Linked DNA regions of Homo sapiens: region 1 is linked to region 2. The links are contacts of gene promoters, found by promoter capture Hi-C in blood cells and fetal thymus (Javierre and others, 2016). All regions are on one chromosome and are shown on one strand. Each heading gives the region's core, a stretch centred on a gene start or on the middle of the fragment in contact. The rest is flanking DNA. Distances are from core to core; before and after follow the strand shown. Region 1 holds the start of SLC5A5 (solute carrier family 5 member 5). Region 2 holds the start of BST2 (bone marrow stromal cell antigen 2).

Region 1 (5,774 bases), core at 3,011-5,510, 470 kb after region 2:
TTGGAGTGCAATGGCATGATCTTAGCTTACTGCAACCTCTGCCTCTTGGGTTCAAGCGATTCTCCTGCTTCAGCCTCCCGAGTAGCTGGGATTACACATGCCTGCCACCATGCCTGGCTAGTTTTTTGTGTTTTTAGTAGACACGGGGTTTCTTCATGTTGGCCAGGGTGGGCTTGAACTCCTGACTTCAGATGATCCACCTGCCTGGGCCTCCAAAAGTGTTGGGATTACAAGCGTGAGCACCGTGCCCAGTCGAATTGTGGAATCTTACAGACAGCAGCAGCAACAAGGAAGAATAGTTTGCATTTATTTATTTTTTTAGAGACAGGGTCTTCTTCTGTCGCCCAGGCTAAAGTGCAGTGGCGCAATCACCGCTCACTGCAGCCTCAACCTCCCCAGCTCAACCAATCCTTCTGCTTCAGCCTCCTAAGTAGCTGGGACCACAGGTGCACACCACCAAACTCGGCTAACTTTTAAAAATTTTTGGCTGGGCATGGTGGCTCACACCTGTAGTCCTAGCACTTTGGGAGGCAGAGGTGGGTGGATCATGTGAGGTCAGGAGTTCGAGACCAGCCTGGCCAACATGGTGAAACCCCTTCTCTACTAAAAATACAACAAACAAACAAACAAACAAAATTGTAGAGTTGGGGTCTCACTATATTGTTCAGGCTGGTCTCCAACTCCTAGCCTCCAGCCATCTTCCTGGCTTGGCCTCCCAAAGTGCTGAGATTACAGGCATGAGCCACCGAAACTGGCCTTTTTGCACTTGTTGAGTGCAGAGTTGAAGTTCAAGGACAGATTCTGGCTCCCCATGGCGTGGGTTCAAATCCCACTGTCACTCCTAGCTCACAGAAGGGGAATTGATGTCCAGGGCCACCCAGCAGGTCGTGCTGCAGTCACAGCAGCTCACAACTTCTCACCCCAACCCCTGCTGCATCTCCCAGGGAACCAAGGGGCAGGGGACAGCGCCCCGACACTGCCACCACTCTCCCATTCCTGCACATTCTGCTCACATTGTCTGCCGCGGCCTTGGGCCCTTCCTAACTCACATCCTGGGGTCCTGCTGCCCGCTTCTGTCATTGGAATCACAGTCAAGGAAGGTGTGACCTGATTCTCCCCACTCTGCTGCTTTTCCTCTCCAGGCTCACAATTCCCTCCGCTAGGGCAGGAGATGGTCCTGCACACTCTGCAGGGGCCTTCACTCCAGGCCTCCTTAGGAATTCCAAAGTGCTTTCCAAATCCACCCCCCTCCCCCCACTCGGCAGCCACCCCACTCCCGCCACTTGGATATGACCCATTTTTCAGAATCTAGAAATCTCATCAGACTCCTCACCTGCTCCAAACTCTCCTACAGTTCCCCAGCACCCTCAGAACAAAATCCACACCCCTTCCGGAGGCCCAGAAGATACCCCGTGATTGTCTGTCTCTGCTCAACCTGTATCCAGGCTGGAATTCACTGGTGTGATCACTGCTCACTGCAGCCTTGACCTCCCGGGCTCTGGCGATCCTCCCACCTCAGCCTCCCAAAGTGCTGGGATTATAAGTGTGAGCCACAGTGCCCAGCTGAAATCAGTATTTATCTGCTGGTGAGGTCAGGGCCATCACCACCCTGGGGTGGGTCCACCTGGATCATGCTGTGTCCCCAGCACCTGCCGGAGGGCCCTGCACACAGTATGCACTCAATGAACCGGCCTCAGCCCAGGCCTCTGGCCGCAGCCTGGACCCCACGGTGGGAAGAAGAGAAGCTATGCCTTCCCAGAACTTCCCTGGAGAGAAGGGGTCCATTTACATGTATTTGCACAATTTGCATATGTTTACATTGGTCGGCAGGGCTTTGCAAGTAGGGGATCCCGCTCGGATCTCCCATTGATTGATTGATTGATTGATTGAGACAGTCTCGCTCTGTCGCCAGGCTGGAGTGCAGTGGCACGATCTCGGCTCACTGCAACCTCCGCCTCCCGGGTTCAAGCGATTCTCCTGCCTCAGTCTCCCGAGTAGCTGGGACTACAGGCGCGTGCCATCACGCCCGGCTAATTTTTGTATTTTTAGTAGAGACGGGGTTTCACCACGTTGGCCTGGATGGTCTCGATTTCCTGACCTCGTGATCCGCCCGCGTCGGCCCCCCAAAGTGCTAGGATTACAGGCGTGAGCCACCGCGCCCAGCCTTGATTTTTATTTATTTATTTGTTTATTTATTTATTTTTTGAGACGGAATCTCTCTCTGTCGCCCAGGCTGGAGTGAAGTGGCGCGATCTCGGCTCACTGCAACCTCCACCTCCCGGGCTCAAGCGATTCTCCCGCCTCAGCCTCCCAAGTAGCTGGGATTACAGGCGGCCGCCACCACGCCCGGCTAATTCTTGTATTTTTAGTAGAGACGGGGTTTCACCATGTTGGCCAGACTGGTCTTGAACGGATCTCAAGAGACCCGTCCGCCTCGGCCCCCCAAAGTGCTGGGATTACAGGAGTGAGACACCGCACCCGGCCGGATCTCCCCTTTTCCAACGGGGTTTCCAGGAGGATGCCTGACCAGGGTGGAAGGAGAAAGAACTAGGTGCCTAACCCACTCTCCTGGCGAGGGCAGGAGGTACGCTCCAGCCGGCAACAGGTGCCCGCGTAGCCGCCGCAGTGTCACAGCCCCGGGGGAGGGACAGGTCCACCCTGCACAGCAGAGAGGGAGCAAGAGGACTGTCCGGGGGTTACGTGGGGACGCGTTGAGAAACGCTGGACCCAGCTGGAGCGGCCAGGGCAGAGGGTAGGCCAGAGGAGGCCACCAGGGAGCAGCAGAGGCTGGCGAGAAGCGCTCAAAAGCCCTTTTTTTTTTTTTTTTTTTTTTTTTGGAGACGGGGTCTTGCTGTGCTGCCCAGGCTGGAGTGCTGTGCAGTTCTCGACCACAGCTCATTGCAGCCTCGAACTTCCACGCTCAAGCGATCCTCCCACTTCAGCCTCCTGAGTAGCTGGGATTACAGGCATGTGCCACCACGCCTCGCTAATATTTGTATTTTTCATACAGACAAGATCTCACTATGTTGCTCAGGGTAGTCTCGAATTCTGGGACTCAAATGATCCTCCCACTTCAGCCTCCCAAAGTGCTGGGATTACAGGCATAAGCCATCATGCCCGGCCTCTGACGCTGTTTCTTTCAACCCCCAGGATTTCAGATTCCACCAGCTTATGGAGAAGGGAACCAAGTTTGAGATGCGTGATTGCCCAGAAAGTTGGAGGCTGAGCTGAGACTTGAACCCAGAGACCAGAACCTCCAGAGGTCAAAGTCCTCCTGGGTCCCCCAGAGAAGGGCCCTGAGATGACAGCTCGTTGGTCCTCATGGAAGCGTGACCCCCCCAGTAGACTTTCTCCCACACCCAACCTTGGTTTCCTCATCTATATGATAGGGACAAGCCAGACTCTACCTCCCTGGTGGTCATGGTCTCCGCTTATTCGGGTTCATAACCTTAAAGGCCCCTCGCACCACCTCAGTGAGCCATTTATGCCTGGCACAGGGCCAACTCTCAGTGCATATCTGCAAAGGAACCAATGAATGAATGAATGAAGTGACAAATGAATAAAGGAATAAATGAATGAGGCACTTATCATGTACCAGGCTTTCGTTACCACGTCCCATTTATTCCTCTGAGGCAGGGTCTATTTTATCCTTGTTACAGATGGGGAAACTAAGGCCCAGGGAGGAGCAAAGTCTTCCCCAAGTATGTACCCACTCAGAACTTGAGCTCTGAATGTCTCCCACCCAGCTTAGCCCAAGAGCGGGGTTCAGTGATGCCCACCCCCTAAGGCTCTAGAGAAAGGGGGTAGGCCCACATGCCAGTTTGGGGGTGGTAAAGCCAGGTAAGTTTTCTTTATGGGTCCCCTGAAACCCTGAAAGTGAACCCCAGTCCTGCATGAAAGTGAGCTCCCCATAGCTCAAGGTATTCAAGCACAATACGGCTTTGAGTGCTGAAGCAGGCTGTGCAGGCTTGGATAGTGACATGCCCTCTCTGAGCCTCAATTTCCCCACCTGTCAACAGCAGACAGTGACAGCTGTGATCAGGGGATCACAGTGCATGGGGATGGGTGGGTGCATGGGGATGGAGGGGCATTTGGGAGCCCTCCCCGATACCACCCCCTGCAGCCACCCAGATAGCCTGTCCTGGCCTGTCTGTCCCAGTCCAGGGCTGAAAGGGTGCGGGTCCTGCCCGCCCCTAGGTCTGGAGGCGGAGTCGCGGTGACCCGGGAGCCCAATAAATCTGCAACCCACAATCACGAGCTGCTCCCGTAAGCCCCAAGGCGACCTCCAGCTGTCAGCGCTGAGCACAGCGCCCAGGGAGAGGGACAGACAGCCGGCTGCATGGGACAGCGGAACCCAGAGTGAGAGGGGAGGTGGCAGGACAGACAGACAGCAGGGGCGGACGCAGAGACAGACAGCGGGGACAGGGAGGCCGACACGGACATCGACAGCCCATAGATTCCTAACCCAGGGAGCCCCGGCCCCTCTCGCCGCTTCCCACCCCAGACGGAGCGGGGACAGGCTGCCGAGCATCCTCCCACCCGCCCTCCCCGTCCTGCCTCCTCGGCCCCTGCCAGCTTCCCCCGCTTGAGCACGCAGGGCGTCCGAGGACGCGCTGGGCCTCCGCACCCGCCCTCATGGAGGCCGTGGAGACCGGGGAACGGCCCACCTTCGGAGCCTGGGACTACGGGGTCTTTGCCCTCATGCTCCTGGTGTCCACTGGCATCGGGCTGTGGGTCGGGCTGGCTCGGGGCGGGCAGCGCAGCGCTGAGGACTTCTTCACCGGGGGCCGGCGCCTGGCGGCCCTGCCCGTGGGCCTGTCGCTGTCTGCCAGCTTCATGTCGGCCGTGCAGGTGCTGGGCGTGCCGTCGGAGGCCTATCGCTATGGCCTCAAGTTCCTCTGGATGTGCCTGGGCCAGCTTCTGAACTCGGTCCTCACCGCCCTGCTCTTCATGCCCGTCTTCTACCGCCTGGGCCTCACCAGCACCTACGAGGTACCGGACAGAGGCCCGGGGGTAGGACCTGCCCCACTGGCAGTGCTGGGACCCCGTGTGGGGGAGGCGCTGGGGCTTTGGGCCGCTGTACAGGAGGACGCGGATGGCACCTCGGTGCTTTAACGGAAGGGGCCCCTAGGCAGACACGTGGGGAGGGTTCTAGGAAGAGGCCCCAGGCGCCCGGCGAGGGGCAGGAAGGAGGAAGAGAGAGCCTGGCGTCCTGCTCCTTCGGTGGAAGCGCGCGCGGGGCGGGGCCCGGCTCGACCAGGTGTGTCCTCACGGGTGGACACACACCTGCCCCCCACCTGCCCGGGCGTGCAGACCCACGTGTGCGCGCTAGAGGGGACTGCTGACGGCTCCGGGGTTCGAAACCTGGCTTCACTGCTTTCTTGTATCTTGGGCAAGGGGCGTGCCTCTCTGTTTGGGTTTCCCAGCTGTCCAATGGGCGAATTACAGGACCTCCCTCCAGGGGAGAGGGTAAAGCGATTAAAATCGTGACCGGGGCCCGGTGCGGTGGCTCACGCCTGTAATCCCAGCACTTTGGGAGGCCAAAGCATGCAGATCACCTGAGGTCAGGAGTTCAAGACCAGCCTGGCCAACATGGCGAAACCCCGTCTCTACTAAAAATACAAAAATTAGCCGGATGTGGTGGTGGGCACCTGTAATCCCAGCTACTTGGGAGGCTAAGACAGGAGAATTGCTTGAACCCGGGAGGTTGCAGTGAGCCGATATCGCGTCACTGCACTCCAGCCTGGGCGACAGAGCGAGACTCTTGTCTCAAA
Region 2 (5,318 bases), core at 345-2,844:
TGGGAGCAAAGGAGATCCTGGGTCTTGGGCTAGGGATGTGGGGGTGAGAGGAATGTGGCAGGTGGAGGGTAGCGGGGGAAGGCTATCTCTGACCTCAGTCGCTCCACCTCTGCAGACGCGTCCTGAAGCTTATGGTTTAATGTAGTGATCTCTCCTGGTAGGGTGGGAGGACAGAAACAGGGGGCGGGTCAGCATGTGGCCATGCTGGGGCCCTGCTCCACTCTGGGACAGAACCTCCCCCTTACCCCAACCTCCAGCCCTGGTCTCCCTGCCCCCACCCCCTCTTCCATACCTGACTCACCCCTCCCCGGCCCTCTCCCTTCTCCCTTTCTCACCCTCAAGCTCCTCCACTTTCTTTTGTCCTTGGGCCTTCTCTGCATCCAGGGAAGCCATTAGGGCCATCTAAGAAGAGTTAGAATCTGGGGTTTTGGCCTGGGGAGTTTGGCTGCTGCCCCTGGGACCTGGGCCTCCTCCCTAGGTCCTGGGGACAGAGGGGCTTAAATGCAAACCCCTTTCAGGTTTTCTTCCAACCCTCTCTGCACCATGGTCTCCAACCTTAAAGAACAGCCACAACCACACACTCTCCCAGGGCCACCCATAAGCATGTGGGTCCTCAAAATGGGAGTTTTGAGGCCACCCCACGTGGAAACTTGGAGGCTATCGATAACCAAAGTTTAGTGGACATTTCCAGATTGCCTGAGCAATGGCCCAAGAAAAGTTAGAGGGCCCTACCAAATCCAGAATGCAGTGGGATTTCCCCGCCCAAGTGACATGCCCAGCGAGAGTTTCAAGATCCCCCATATCAGGACCCAGGTGAATATTTCAGTTTCTTAGGGATGAAGTGAAAATTTCAAAAGCCCCCTTTTTCAGGGTCTGGTGAGGTCCCCCTTCAACCCTGAATAGGGATTTCTACTCCCCCAGGACTGGTGCCCACGAGGAGTTTCAAGGCCCCCGACACCAGTGCCCTGGAAAGAATTTATAAATTCACCTAAGTCCCAGGGGGATACTGAGGTCCCCGATTTGGGGGATCTGGAGAGTTTTAACACCCTGCCCCTACACCAGTGCCCTGGACTGGGTTAGGGGCCCACAAACCCTGGTAGGGGAACCTAGGTCCCTTGATGTGGGGGCCCAGGAGCAGTTTCAGGACCTCCCCTGCATCTCCCTGGAGACCCACCCTGGGTCAGATTTCTGGGGAGAGATTCTTGTCCCTCCCACCGCCTAGTACTAGGCCATCCAAAGGAGTTGAGGAGCTTACCACAGTGTGGTTGCAGGTGGCGGCCTGGGCCTCCACATCCTGAAAGCCCTTCTGGGCCTCGGTCAGCTCTTGTTGCAGGAGATGGGTGACATTGCGACACTCCATCACTGCCCGAAGGCCGTCCCGGCAGGCCTCGCTGTTGGCCTTGATGGTGAAGATAATCAAGGGCACCCCCAGAATCACGATGATCAGGAGCACCAGAATTCCTATCCCCAGCAGAAGCTTACAGCGCTTATCCCCGTCTTCCATGGGCACTCTGCAATAGTCATACGAAGTAGATGCCATCCAGATCTCCCCTTTAGAGTCTGGCCTGGAGTTAGGGGAGGGTGCTGGAATCTTCTACGGGCCACCCCTTTATTAGCATAGGAAACGTCCTGACCAATAGCAAGTTCCAGGAAGTGCTCTGACCAGCAGCTCTTGCATGAGGCACCTACAGGCAGAGGATTAATTAGGTTTTCAGTTTCAGTTTCCCAGAAAGGAGGTGGGCTTTTTTTTCACCCTGCTTTAAAAGCCCTTGGGCCCTTCCCAGCTGGGTGCCAGCCAACTGTGGCTGCCTGGGACACTCCATCTTAAGTCCCTGTGCCTCTGCTGTGTGTTACTGAGTGCCTAGGCCGTGCCAGCCTGTATTCATCTGTACTATGACCTGAAGAGGCAGAGGCCATCACTGTTGGTCCGGTCTCCACCTGGGGAAACTGAGGTTGCACAGTTGCGTGGTGGAGTGAGGGCAGGGCCTGGGTCTGGGGGCGGGGCCTGGGTCTGACCCCAGGGACTGGTTTTTGTGTTCAGGTGTCTCTGTGGTGACGAGCAGGGCTTCATCCAGTGCCTCTGTCCCCACCGAGGGGACTATGGGAGACATGGAGGGTGTGTGAGCAACAGGTGAGACTGGAGCCAGCTGAAAACTGGGAGACCGACCCAGCCAACAAACAATGTCGGTCTCTGTCTTGGCACCTGCAGGAAACAAGCTCCTACTTCCAGAAAAAGTGCTCCTGGGACTCCAGGATACCAGGTAAACTCTCTGAGCCTGTTTCTTCATCTGCAAAGGGGAATAACAGGGCCAGCCTCAGACACTGTCCATGTGGCCAAGAGAGCCAGGGCTTCCTACAGGAAATCAGGCCCATTATCGGCACCCAACTGCTGGGCATGACCGCTGAAAGGGGACTGCATGTTTTTCTTGTGGCTTCTTCAGCCACATCCTGACCACAGCCCAGATTCTGTTAGGTCTGCCATTTCCATGTTTTTTTTTCTTTTCAGCAGGGCCAGACAGTAGGCGAGGTCAAGTCCAGAGCCCAGGCCTCCCAGAAGGCCTGGGGAACTCCCCCCAGGCCCTGACTCCAACATCCCTCAGAAGGACCCCATTAAAGCCACTTAGAGCCAGGCATGGTGGTACATGCCTGTGGTCCCAGGCTGAGGCTGGGAGGCTGAGGCAGGAGGATCACTCGAGCCCAGGAGTTTGAGGCTGCAGCGAGCTATGATTGTGCCACGGCACTCAAGCCTGGGTGATAGAGTGGGATCCCATCTCTTAAACCAATAAACAAAAAAATCACTTAGAACCAAGAACCAATTAACAAGCTGTGGGAGATGATCTTGCTGAAAATTCTGAGGGTGAACTTGTCCCAGGAGGAGGGACCTACCAGCCTGGCCAGGACTCCAGGTGCAAAGACACGACCTTTGCCTGACTTATTTGACTAAGCTGACTTATTTGAGCAGCACTGTTCTGGCCTGCTAACTTTAGGGTTAGTTTGGGACCAGGTCGGAAATCACAATTGCATGAATTGCACATTGGAGGCCAGGGTGGTGCACCTCTGGGCAAATGAATTTCCTCTCTTAGCATTGATTTCCCCAGCTGTAAAATGTGGATAATAATAGATTGATGTCCTCTCTAAATTTTGCAGCTGTAAACAGTCCCAGCCCTGCAAACCGAAAGTTTGTTGCTCTTCCCTTTAAAATTACTGTAGGGACCAGCCCCACAGGGTCAGTGGGTCTCTCCCTGTGTGCGGCGACGAGAGAGTGTAGAAATAAAGACACAAGACGAAGAGATAAAAGAAAAGACAGCTGGGCCCGGGGGACCACTACCAGCAATGCGCGGAGACTGGTAGTGGCCCCGAATGTCTGGCTGTGCTGTTATTTATTGGATACAAAGCAAAAGGGGCAGGGTAAAGAGTGTGAGTCATCTCCAATGATAGGTAAGGTCACGTGGGTCACGTGTCCACTGGACAGGGGGCCCTTCCCTGCCTGGCAGCCGAGGCAGAGAGAGAGAGAGGGGACAGACAGAAAGACAGCTTATGCCATTATTTCTGCATATCAGAGACTTTTAGTACTTTCACTAAATGACTACTGCTATCTAGAAGGCAGAGCCAGGTGTACAGGATGGAACATGAAGGCGGACTAGGAGCGTGACCACTGAAGCACAGCATCACAGGGAGACGGTTAGGCTGCCAGATAACCGCGGGCGAGCCTGACTGATGTCAGGCCCTCCACAAGAGGTGGAGGAGCAGAGTCTTCTCCAAACTCCCCCAGGGAAAAGGAGCCTCCCTTTCCCGGTCTGCTAAGTAGTGGGTGTTGTTCCTTGACACTTTTCGCTACCGCTAGACCACTGTCCGCTCGGGCAACGGGCGTCTTCCCAGACGCTGGCGTCACCGCTAGACCAAGGAGCCCTTCTGCTGGCCCTGTCCGGGCATAACAGAAGGCTTGCACTCTTGTCTTCTGGTCACACCTCACTATGTCCCCTCAGCTCCTATCTCTGTATGGCCTGGTTTTTCCTAGGTTATGATTGTAGACCGAGGATTATTATACTATTGGGATAAAGAGTAATTACTACAAACTAATGATTAATGATATTCATATATCTCTAAGATCTATATTTGGTATAACTATTCTTGTTTTATATTTTATTATACTGGAACAGCTCGTGTCCTCAGTCTCTTGCCTTGGCACCTGGGTGGCTTGCCGCCCACAATTACAAATGGTGGGATGGGTGCAGTGGCTCATGCCTGCAATCCTAGTACTTTGGGAGGCTGAGATGGGAAGATTGCTTGAGGCCAGTAGTTCGAGACCAGCCTGGTCAACATAGAGAGATCCTATCCCTATTTAAAAATAAATATATATATATATTTTAAGTACATATATTTATTTTATTTTGTTTTAATTAATTAATTAATTAATTAATTTTTTTTGAGATGGAGTCTCGCTCTTGTTGCCCAGGCTGGAGTGCAGTGGCACGATCTTGGCTCACTGCAACCTCTGCCTCCGGAGTTCAAGCGATTCCCCTGCCTCAGCCTCCTGAGTAGCTGGGATTACAGGCGCCCACCGCCATGCCTGGCTTATTTTTGTACTTTTAGTAGAGACAGGGTTTTGCCATGTTGACCAGGCTGGTCTTGAACTCCTGACCTCAGGTGATCTGTCTGACTCAGCCTCCCAAAGTGCTGGGATTACAGGCGTGAGCCACTGCACCTGGCCTATATTTTATTTTATATTTTTAAATATATAATGTATTTTTATATATTGGTTGGTGCAAAAGTAATTGCGGTTTCTGCCATTACTTTTTTTTTTTTTTTTTTGAGAGGGAATCTCTCTCTGTCGCCCAGGCTGGAGTGCAGTGGTACGATCTCGATCACTACAACCTCTGCCTCCTGGGTTGAAGCGATTCTCCTGCCTCAGCCTCCTGAGTAGCTGGGACTACAGATGCCTGCCACCATGCCTGGCTACTTTTTGCATTTTTAGTAGAGATGGGGTTTCGCCATGTTGGCCAGGCTGGTCTCAAACTTCTGACCTCAGGTGATCCACCCAACTTGGACTCACCAAGTACTGGGATTACAAGCGTGAGCCACCGTGCCCGGCCTATATTTTATTTTATATTTTTAAATATATTCTCCCTCTGTCACCCAGGCTGGAGTGCAGTGGTGTAATCTCGGCTCACTGCAACCTCTGCCTCCTGGGTTGAAGTGATTCTTCTGCCTCAGCCTCCTGAGTAGCTGGGACTACAGATGCCTGCCACCATGCCCAGCTACTTTTTGTATTTTTAGGAGAGACGGGGTTTCGACATGTTGGCCAGGCTGGTCTCGAA

What was found. Contacts are between HindIII fragments. The CHiCAGO score rates a contact against its expected background, and 5 or more counts as called.
Region 1: the fragment with the promoter of SLC5A5 here is called in contact with the fragment with the promoter of BST2 in region 2 in 5 of 17 cell types (naive CD8 T cells, fetal thymus, non-activated CD4 T cells and 2 more); the score reaches 9.3 in naive CD8 T cells.

Annotation. Positions count from the first base shown.
Region 1 is chr19:17,867,685-17,873,458 of GRCh38, forward strand. It overlaps SLC5A5 (solute carrier family 5 member 5), which reads left to right and starts at 4,261. Exons shown (of 15, transcript NM_000453.3): 1 at 4,261-4,992. The coding sequence starts at 4,636. RefSeq lists enhancers at 1,076-1,729, 1,730-2,383. The HindIII fragment of the contact is 10,072 bases long and covers 1-5,774 here.
Region 2 is chr19:17,404,036-17,409,353 of GRCh38, forward strand. It overlaps BST2 (bone marrow stromal cell antigen 2), which reads right to left and starts at 1,595. Exons shown (of 5, transcript NM_004335.4): 1 at 1,256-1,595; 2 at 336-402; 3 at 94-154. The coding sequence starts at 1,540. It overlaps BISPR (BST2 interferon stimulated positive regulator), which reads left to right and starts at 1,651. Exons shown (of 4, transcript NR_130766.1): 1 at 1,651-1,736; 2 at 2,042-2,261. It also overlaps a transcript of MVB12A not described here. RefSeq lists enhancers at 774-1,512, 1,497-1,556, 1,627-2,006, 2,197-2,256, 2,307-2,356 and 2 more. The HindIII fragment of the contact is 7,369 bases long and covers 1,476-5,318 here.